Linked DNA regions of Homo sapiens: region 2 is linked to region 1. The links are contacts of gene promoters, found by promoter capture Hi-C in blood cells and fetal thymus (Javierre and others, 2016). All regions are on one chromosome and are shown on one strand. Each heading gives the region's core, a stretch centred on a gene start or on the middle of the fragment in contact. The rest is flanking DNA. Distances are from core to core; before and after follow the strand shown. Region 1 holds the start of GLOD4 (glyoxalase domain containing 4). Region 2 overlaps ABR (ABR activator of RhoGEF and GTPase).

Region 1 (5,260 bases), core at 1,411-3,910:
AAGAGCAAAACTCAAACTCAAAAAAAAAAAAAAGTCTGATTTGGAATTCTGTCATTTAGTAGTTGTGTAACTCTGAGCAAATTAGAATCTGAGTCTCAGTCTCCTAACATGTGATGGGAATGGATGTTATGAAAGCATCTCACAGAACCCTGCACACAGCGGGCTCTCAACGTGTTAGCTTTAGCCCTCCTTTTTGATTCCCACGGCTCCTGCCAGTTGAAGTTCCCAACGCTTCGCTCAGACTATTAAAAATCATCCTTATTGGCCGGGCGCGGTGGCTCACGCCTGTAATCCCAGCACTTTGGGAGGCCGAGGTGGGTGGATCATGAGGTCAGGAGATCGAGACCATCCTGGCTAACACAGTAAAACCCCATCTCTACTAAAAATACAAAAAATAAGCAGGGCGTGGTGGCGGGCGCCTGTAGTACCAGCTACTCGGGAGGCTGAGGCAGGAGAATGGTGTGAACCCAGGAGGCGGAGCTTGCAGTGAGCCGAGATTGCGCCACTGCACTCCAGCCTGGGCGAAAGAGCGAGACTCCGTCTCAACATAAAAAAAATAAAAAATAAAAAATAAAAAAATCCTTATTGATATCCTTCCTTAATAACACCAAAAAAGCACATGCCTAAAGCACAAAGCACTGATCCCATCACCACCCTGTTTAAGAACATAAGTGAGCTCCCATCTTACTGCAGCATAAAATCCAAATTCTTTAGCATAGCATTCAAGATACTATTAGAAGCAATGCCGACCTGTCCATCCTGATATCCCATCTCCTTAACTTCAACTAAGCAACCTCAACTAAAGGCACATAAAACCAGCGGCTTCGCAAACATGTGCCATCTCCGCACTGGCTCTTCAGTTTTACTATGTAGCTCCTCCTCTCATCTACCTGTGGATATCCTATCTTTAGACGTCAACTCGAATCCTGGCTAACACGGTGAAACCCCGTCTCTACTAAAAATATTTTTAAAAATTAGCCGGGTGTTGTGGTACGCGCCTGTGGTCCCAGCTACTCGGGAGGCTGAGGCAGGAGAATGGTGTGAACCCGGGAGGCTGAGCTTACAGTGAGCCGAGATCGCGCCACTGCACTCCAGCCTGGCGACAGAGCAAGACTCCACCTCAAAAAAAAAAAAAAAAAAAAAAGTCAACTCGAATACAAGGTCTACATGAATTATTTCCTCATCACCCAGGTTGGAAAACCGCTCCTTCTTTTGTATTTTTATAATAGTGGCTAACACTTATATAATCTACTATTACCGATATGTTAAATACTATACATATAATAAGGTGTTGAATCTTTTTTTTTTTTTTTTTTTTGAGACGGAGTTTTGCTTTCGTCATCCAGGCTGGAACACAATGGTGCGATCTCGGCTCACTGCAACCTCCGCCTCCCAGATACAGGCGATTCTCTTGCCTCAGCCTCCCGAGTAGCTGGGATTACAGGCGTGTGCCACCATGCCCGGCTAATTTTTGTATTTTTAGTAGAGACAGGGTTTCACCATGTTGGCCAGGCTGGTGTCCAACTCCTGACCTCCAGTGATCCACCCGCCTTGGCCTCCCAAAGTGCTGAGATTACAGGCGTGGGCCACCGCGCCGGCACGTGTTTAATCTTTGCAACAACCTTTTGATCGACGAGGAAATACTAACAAGGGACAGCTCTGTGGTTTCTGCTATCGAAAGTTTGGTGGTTTTTCACTATCAAATTCTGACTTCCATTACCATCATCTACGTACAAATCCAGTTCCAACTCCCACCCCAACCCAGGCCATGAGCTCTAATGGAGGATATATATCAGGGTCATTTGCACCTTTGTTGCCAAAACTCAACGTAGTACCCTGAAAATAGCAGATATTTTAAAAATGACCTGACGAATTCAGATCCCCGTCTATTGCACCGTCTATACACTAAACCGCGCTCTTGCACCTTTCAAGTCTTCCTTAGTGGTGTGTTCCCTACCTCCCTGGCTTATCAAAGGAGGTCCCCAAAACCCAGTTCCCCAACCAACTGAATCCTGCAAATAACAGCTCCTCAGGACCCGAGACAGACCGCTTCTGGGTGCTGTTGAAAAGCAGATGGGTTGAGAGTTGGAGCATATATTCAGAGACTGAGTATCCGAAACGGACTATTCAGACCAGCCTTGCTAGAAGCAGAACTCTGAATACGCTGATTTTATCTACATCAAAGGCTCCAAACCGGAAAACACAAATATTAACTAGAAAGCATTATATAACATTTTATTTACCGTCTTTTCCGGTAGACGGTAAGCTCCACAAGGGCGGGGCTCAATAAACGTTTACGAGTGGCTTAAATGAAAGGACGTGCGTGGGCACACCGCGGGGACTAATCGTGTTAGGCCCTTCTCCAAGGCCTATGATCCCCAACGGCAACTCGCCACGCTCCTGAAGCTGAACACCGCGCAGGGCCTAAGGTCGGACACCCTCCGGCTTAGGTTCACGACACACCCATTTTCCCCTCCCTCCGCCAGGGCCGGCTCGGGCGCCGGTTCCAGCCTCGCGCGCCAGCCCCTGTCGGCCCCGGCCTGCACCTTCATCCCCAGGACGTCCCGATAGAAACGCGCCGTCTGGAAGCGGTTTCCCACTTTGAATACGAAGTGCAGAGCTCTGCGAGCAGCCATGATTCCCGCCGCACGCAGCCGTCACGCGCACCGTACAGCCCAGTCCACGAAGGGCGCCACGGGCCGTGACGTCACTAGCCGCCGACGGCGCGCTTTCGTGACGCAGCCCGGGTCTCAGGGAACATGGCGGCGCTGGTGAGACCCGCGAGGTTTGTCGTGCGACCGTTGCTGCAGGTGGTCCAGGCTTGGGACCTTGACGCGAGGCGCTGGGTCCGGGCGCTGCGGCGGAGCCCAGTGAAAGTGGTGTTTCCTTCCGGAGAGGTGGTGGAACAGAAGCGCGCTCCTGGGAAGCAGCCCCGCAAGGCACCATCTGAGGCCAGTGCCCAGGAGCAACGAGAGAAACAACCGCTCGAGGAGTCCGCATCCCGCGCTCCCAGCACCTGGGAAGAGTCTGGGCTTCGCTACGATAAAGCTTATCCCGGGGACAGGAGGCTGAGGTGATGTGGTTCTTGAGCCTGTCGAATGTTCTCGTTTCCCTTCCCGTCGCACAGCGGAACCTTAACCTCCTTCCGATGGAGGACTTCTTCCAGTACAGCCCGCTGGTTTTTGTATTATGCACAGAGGGCCGAATAAGCGTCTTTGGAATTAGCTTCTGTTTCTCCTTAGCTCTTTGTTGTTGTTTTTGTTTCACCATGTTAGCCAGGCTGATCTGGAACTCCTGACCTCAGGTGATCCGCCCGCCTCGGCCTCCCAATGTGCTGGGATTACAGGCGTGAGCCACCGCGCCCGGCCCTCTCCGTAGCTCTTTATTTCTGTTACAACTAAGCGTGTCTCAGTAACAAGGATGTTGATAGTTACCTGTTTTTTTTTTTTATTTCCATCTACAGCAGTGTAATGACAATAGTAAAGTCCAGGCCATTTCGGGAAAAACAAGGGAAGATCCTGCTGGAAGGTCGCAGGCTCATTTCAGACGCTCTCAAGGCTGGAGCTGTGCCAAAAATGTTCTTCTTTAGCCGTCTAGAATACCTAAAGGAGTTGCCAGTCGATAAGCTGAAAGGTGTCAGCCTCATTAAGGTGAAATTTGAGGATATCAAGGATTGGTCCGACCTCGTAACGCCACAAGGAATAATGGGTTAGTGATTACCCAGTGTATCTTTTTTTTTTTTTGTCTTGTTCTGTCACCCAGGCTGGAGTGCAATGGCGCGATCTCGGCCCACTGCAACCTCCGCCTCTCGGGTTCAAGGGATTCTCTTGCCTCAGCCTCCGCAGTAGCTGGGATTACAGGCGTCTGCCACCATGCCCGGGTGATTTTTGTATTTTTAGTAGAGGTGGGGTTTCACCATGTTGGCCAGGCTGACGTCGAACTTGTGACCTCAGGTGATCCTCCTGCCTCGGCCTCCCAAAGTGCTGGGATTACAGGCGTGAGCCACCATGCCTGGCCTTACACAGTGTATCTTAAGGTGTGGAGACCTAGGATTAATTTCTCATACTTGTCTTAGGACAGCAGCATTGAAATGAAATTCAAAATGTTACAATTAGAAAAATATAATTCTCAAACCTGTGTATCTTAGAGTATTTTCAATGGAAATTGAAACCCGTTTTTCACTATCATTTGTGTTGTGGCTCTTTATGGTCTCTAGGAAGAACCACTATTCCTCAAACCTTCTATTTTTTAGATTACTTCTTCAACTTTCTATGTCAGATTAAAAATTAAGAAAGCGTTTACTGAAAGATTGAGCCCTTCATTTTTGCAAAACCTCTGCCAATGTGGTGATAACTGTCAATAAACTGCTTATTCCAGAAGCAGATCTAAGAAGCGAGGTACAAGCCACAATTTACTGCCCCGTTTAGCCCAATAAACAGAGAACCTTGTCTTCTAGTCTGTTCCTTCATTTGGCTGAATCTGACTTAACCTTATGTAACTCCGATGTTGATTAGCAGTTACAAAGTCTTTGGTCTAAATATGAGAAGATAAGTTTTTCATACGTTTTTGACATGGGAGTTTTAAGATATGAAAACTGAATCCTTGAACTGCTGAGAGAGGAGATTCTGGGGAACCATCTCTTGTCTCTGTAACCCAGTGAGTCACAGGGATCTGTGCCTCTGCACTCAGAGCTCTTAGATCCTAGGATGGGGACTTGGATTACTAAAGTACCTAGAATTACTCATGCTAAGTAACCATATTCTCACTAGCTACAGCCCTCTAATCCACACGCCATGCTTCAGTGAAAGTGTTATTCATTTTTACCGTGCTTGTCACTTGGGGCAGGTGTGCTCACAGTGGCCAGCCCATCTTGAACTTGTGCTTGTCACTTGGGGCAGGTGTGCTCACAGTGGCCAGCCCATCTTGAACTTGTGCTTGTCACTTGGGGCAGGTGTGCTTACAGTGGCCAACCCATCTTGAACTTCATCATCATACCTGCTTTCATCATTTCCTGGCTTATCCTTATGTTACTATATTTTAGATTTGAGGGCAGGGAATAAGGGAGAAATGGATAGGAACTGGCAGCACCTGTCAGGCTTTAGACAGACACTCCCCAGAATCCAGCGACATAAGTAGGGCCTCCGTATAGTGGGTTCTCATCACCACAGACATCCAAGTAGAAGTAAAGGACTTCTAAGGTCCTCAGCCCTACTGAATGGCTTTTGGCCATCTGTGACTCCGAAGTGGAGGCTCTCTCACA
Region 2 (4,713 bases), core at 840-3,339, 290 kb after region 1:
GCCCCTGCTCCCTCCGCAGCCCTGCCTCCTCTCCCATCAGACATGGCTTCATCGAGAGCCGCCCCGCCCCCCTCCCCAGGCCTGTCCTGGCCTCACCTGGCTCAAGGCAGATGCTCTCCTGGACCCCCAGCCCTGAATCACACAGCTCCACCCAGCCACGCCCCGAAGAGTCCAGCACACCTGCCACACGCAGGACCCCAGAATCACACAGCTCCACCCAGCCACGCCCCGAAGAGTCCAGCACACCTGCCACACGCAGGACCCCAGAATCACACAGCTCCACCCAGCCACGCCCCGCAGAGTCTAGCACACCTGCCACACGCAGGACCCCAGAATCACACAGCTCCACCCAGCCACGCCCCGTAGAGTCCAGCACACCTGCCACACGCAGAACCCCAGAATCACACAGCTCCACCCAGCCATGCCCTGCAGAGTCTAGCACACCTGCCACATGCAGGACCCCAGAATCACACAGCTCCACCCAGCCACGCCCCGCAGAGTCCAGCATACCTGCCACACGCAGAACCCCAGAATCACACAGCTCCACCCAGCCATGCCCTGCAGAGTCTAGCACACCTGCCACATGCAGGACCCCAGAATGGGGGAAGGAGACATGCTGTGTTTCCAGGAAGGGCAGCTCTCCAGACCTTATCATTCTCAGGCTCCTGGAGCTGAAGGCCAGGCACAGCCAGCTGGGATTGGCATGCCTCACTGTGATCCACAGGACTGGCCTCATCTCTCAGAGGAAAGACCCCTCCCCACATCCTCAAACCCCAGATAGCAAAGCACAGGAAGGCTGGAGGCAGGGAGGCTGGAGGCCAGGAGGCTGGCCTGATCTCCACAGAAAGGCTCTGCTCCCCGAGGCCAGCCTGGCCAACCAGTGAAACCCCATCTCTATTAAAAATACAAAAATTAGCCAGGCGTGGTGGCACATGCCTGTAATCCCAGCTATTTGGGAGGCTGAGGCAGGGAAATCACTTGAACCCGGGAGGCGGAAGTTGTAGCGAGCCAAGATCATGCCACTGCACTCCAGCCTGGGTAACAAGAGCAAAACTCCATCTCAAAAAAAAAGAAAAAAGGCTGTGCTCTCAAACACGTGGCAGCCTGAGGGGCAAAGGTTTCCTGAAGCAACTCAGGTTAGGCCTCACATATGAGAGCCCCAAAGAGGCTGGGAGGACGCAGGCAAGGCCAGCCCAGGCCCCCAAGAGCCACACCCTCCACAACCCGGACACCAAGTGAGGATGGCTGGGATTCAGCAGGGACAGGTGGAGGTGGCAGCTGGTGGATCAACACTTCCCAACACCCTTCCTGTACGCGGCTGCGCCCACCCTCCCAACAGGAGGCTCAGCTTCAGTCCTGCACCTGGATGCTCTGTCCCTGGGGTCATGACCTTGGGCCTCCTGCCGCAGGGGCAGTGACAGAGGCAGGTTGGTCATCTGGGAAGAAGGATCCCAGACTGGGTGTCCCATAAGACCAGGTTGTGACAGGTCCCAGCGTGAACACGCACGCCCTAGCCGGGCCCCAAACCTGATAGTTCTCCAAAGCCTGAGATATAAATACCCCGTGCGCGGCTAAGCAGACACTTCAGGGAGCAATCTGCTGGCTGTGAAGAAAATGCAGCCTCAGCAGGGCCACCAGCCTTACCCGCAGTCCGAGCTTGGCTGCCTGTCGGAATCACTGGGGGAGCGGTTAAAAGATACAGATGCTGCTCCCCAGCCCCGTCAACTCAACCCAAATCTCTGCAAGACCACAAGGGCCATCAGCATTTCTATAAAGCTTCTTTACTGATTTGAATGTATAATAATGGTTGAAAACCACTGCTTTATGTTTTATTTATGTATTTATTTTAATTTTTTTAAAAATATAGAGACGAGGGGCCGGGCAGGGTGGCTCACGCCTGTAATCCCAGCACTTTGGGAGGCCGAAGCGGGTGGATCATTTGAGGTCAGGAGTTCAAGAACAGCCTGGCCAACATGGTGAAACCCCATCTCTACTAAAAATACAAAAATTAGCCAGGTGTGGTGGCAGGCGCCTATAATCCCAACTACTTGGGAGGCTGAGGCAGGGGAATCTCTTGAATCCAGGAGGCAGAGGTTGCAGTGAGCTGAGATTGCGCCATTGCACTCCAGCCTGGGCGACACAGTGAGTCTTCGTTTAAATAAAAATAAATATAGAGACAAGGTCTCACTATGTTGCTGGTCTCGAACTCCTGGCCTCAAGCCAAATACAAGCTGGTCTCGAACTCCTGGCCTCAAGCAATCCTCCTGCCTCAGTCTGCCAAAAGTTGGGATTACAGGCATGAGTACCCGGCCAACCACTGGTTTACGTAAATACACTTCATATGACATATCTGTAGCCCTTTCTTATCTAGCAGTTTCCAGAGACCCTCCCCATGGGCCATGGAAGCTTGAAGGAATGAGGCCAGTCTTGGGGTATCCTCGGCACTGAGGGTGCAGCCCAGGTCCTAGCTCAGGTGGGATCCATTTCTGAGGCTGTTTAAGGCACCCACCTGTGGCTCAGCCCATCTTCAGGGGGAAAAAATCACACTGGAGAACCCCAGAGACCCAAAAGAAAGCACAAGCTCAGCAGACACCTGCCAGGGTGGGCTCCGGAGTGGCGGCTCCACAGAAAGCTGACACTGCATTATCGGCTCCCCGCAGCCCTCTCTTGGGTCCCAAGAGGAAGAGGTTTCTGACTAAGCTCAGAGGTCTGAACACATGGCAGGTTGGGTTTCAGAGGGGTTATTAACATGTCTGTGGTCACCTCCAGAGTCCACCTGAGTAAGGCTGTGGAATGAGCCCTGGAAGGGCGGCCAGGAGGGCAGGTGCACGGGGGGGGTGGGGGTGGGGGGGGTGGCGGCACTGGGACCACATCAGATACGGAGGGAACCGGGGGAATAAGAGCGGCCCTGAAGTTTGTGCTCCCCACGGCCCCTGCACGCTGGGGTCCCCTGAGAACTCAGGGTGAGGCACTCGCTCTGGCCCTTCCCCTGTCCCTGGGCTCCTGCAGGCTGGCCTGCTTCCTGCCCGGCCTCACCCACTCTCCCTCTCCACTGACACTGACTTGGGCAGCAAGCTGGTCTCTCTCTAGTTTGCTGGGTACTCGCTCTGTGCCCAAGGGTACTGAGTTAACTGCTTTGCTCTCATTATTTCCTGTGATTAAAACGGGAAGCAATTCTCACTAGCCCCATTTTACAGACAAGGCAACTGAGGCCAGAGACTTGTGGCTACAAGTGGTGGGAGCTGGGTAGATCCACCCGCACTCCTTGCTTTGAGCTGCACCTTCTTCAGGGAAAGGCAGCACCTGTAAAACCTCAATGAACCACAGGAGCGTTCTTGGAAAGAGTGACCAGGATGGGGTGAGCCCCCTCCTCACGAGCTGGCCCTTTCACTCCTCATTCCCCACTTTGAAGCCGACTTCAACAACAGTATCACGGAGACCGAAGCAACGTGAACTCCAGGTCCCAGGTCCGTTTCACTGAGTCGAAGCTTCCTTTTGGGGAAGGGAGAGGAAGCCAAGGGTACGTTTCCTTTTCAGGGAGGCAGAGTCAAGACCTGACCAACTCCTAGGCCAGACCAAAAAGACCATTTCTCCTCTGATCGCTGACCAGGCCAATTTCAAGTGAGAACAGGGTTCCTGCAGCCGCCCTGCTGGGCCGCAGGAGAGAGGCTGCCTCAGAGCTTGCTTCCATCAAGAGGGTCCTGAGAAGGTCAGGGGGCACTGGCCCCACACAGCCCCTCCAGCACAGCCGCCCCTGGGAAGGAGCCCAGGAAACCTGCCATCTCTCTTCCGGCAAGCCACCATCCCCCTCAAGTCAGCCTTCGACAAGGAGCTCCAAGGAGCTCCAGGTTACCAGGGAGATAGGAAAGCAAAGTGACTGAGAAGGGTGCAGAGCCGAAACACCTGGTGGGAAGGAAGAGGAAGGTCCTAAAACCAGCCGCCTGCTGCTCCCACAGACTCAGGCCCAGAGCAGCCGGCCTGGGAGCCACACGTGCCCACCCCACTCCCTGCCACAGGCAGGCAGGGCACCCCTTGGCACGTCTTGCCTCTTGAGGCAGGGTCCACGGGCTTCTGGACACCTCCCTACCTGGGCCGGCTTCATCCTCCTACGACCGACAGTCGTGTTGATGACATGCACCTGTCCCGGGACTTCCCCCCAGCCCCCAGCCAGCTGCGGGAGCTGCAAGGAGGATGGTCCGGGTCCCTTCCACCGAAAGGTGGTGTGTGTGTGTGTGTGTGTGTGTGTGACCTTCACAGAGTAGCTTGCCACACCCCTCTCCCGCTGGCCCTGCCGACCTGCCTTCCACAGTTGAGGGCCCAGACCTCGGCTGGGGGTCTCTCACGGCTGGAAACAAACCTCTCCTTCCTGCTCCCACAGCCCCTCCGTGTCCTCCGCCTACTGCTGCATGTGCGCGGAGCACACAATACCGTGCCGCCCAGCCTCCGCGCCTCTCTCCAGAAACAAAGAAACTCCCAACTTCTCCCTCTGGCTCGCGCTGGCACCCTCTCGGCTGGCAACGCCGCCGTCCGGACCATCGCCACCCATCGCCACGCTGTGCCTGGCCCCCGCAGACCCTCTCCCTGGCCTCAGGGCTACTACGTCTGCGGGCACAGCTCGTCGCCGTCTCTCCCTAACAGCCCCTCCAGGAAGTTCTCTCACACTAGCCCACCAATTCCCCACCGATCCTCGGGGCCACCTGGACCCCTCCAGCC

The links. The method cuts DNA at HindIII sites, captures the fragments that hold promoters and counts their contacts. A CHiCAGO score of 5 or more calls a contact.
Region 2: a fragment that was not itself captured here is called in contact with the fragment with the promoter of GLOD4 in region 1 in 1 of 17 cell types (megakaryocytes); the score reaches 5.4 in megakaryocytes.

What each region holds. Positions count from the first base shown.
Region 1 is chr17:779,620-784,879 of GRCh38, forward strand. GLOD4 (glyoxalase domain containing 4) reads right to left here and starts at 2,661. Exons shown (of 9, transcript NM_016080.4): 1 at 2,547-2,661. The coding sequence starts at 2,636. MRM3 (mitochondrial rRNA methyltransferase 3) reads left to right here and starts at 2,734. Exons shown (of 4, transcript NM_018146.4): 1 at 2,734-3,073; 2 at 3,464-3,708. The coding sequence starts at 2,760. RefSeq lists enhancers at 1,592-1,691, 2,692-3,041, 2,713-3,261. The HindIII fragment of the contact is 3,821 bases long and covers 1-3,046 here.
Region 2 is chr17:1,073,885-1,078,597 of GRCh38, forward strand. The region is part of intron 6 of ABR (ABR activator of RhoGEF and GTPase); the gene reads right to left. Among named protein-coding and RNA genes, the nearest start is that of MIR3183, 54 kb to the left of the region's middle. The HindIII fragment of the contact is 630 bases long and covers 1,775-2,404 here.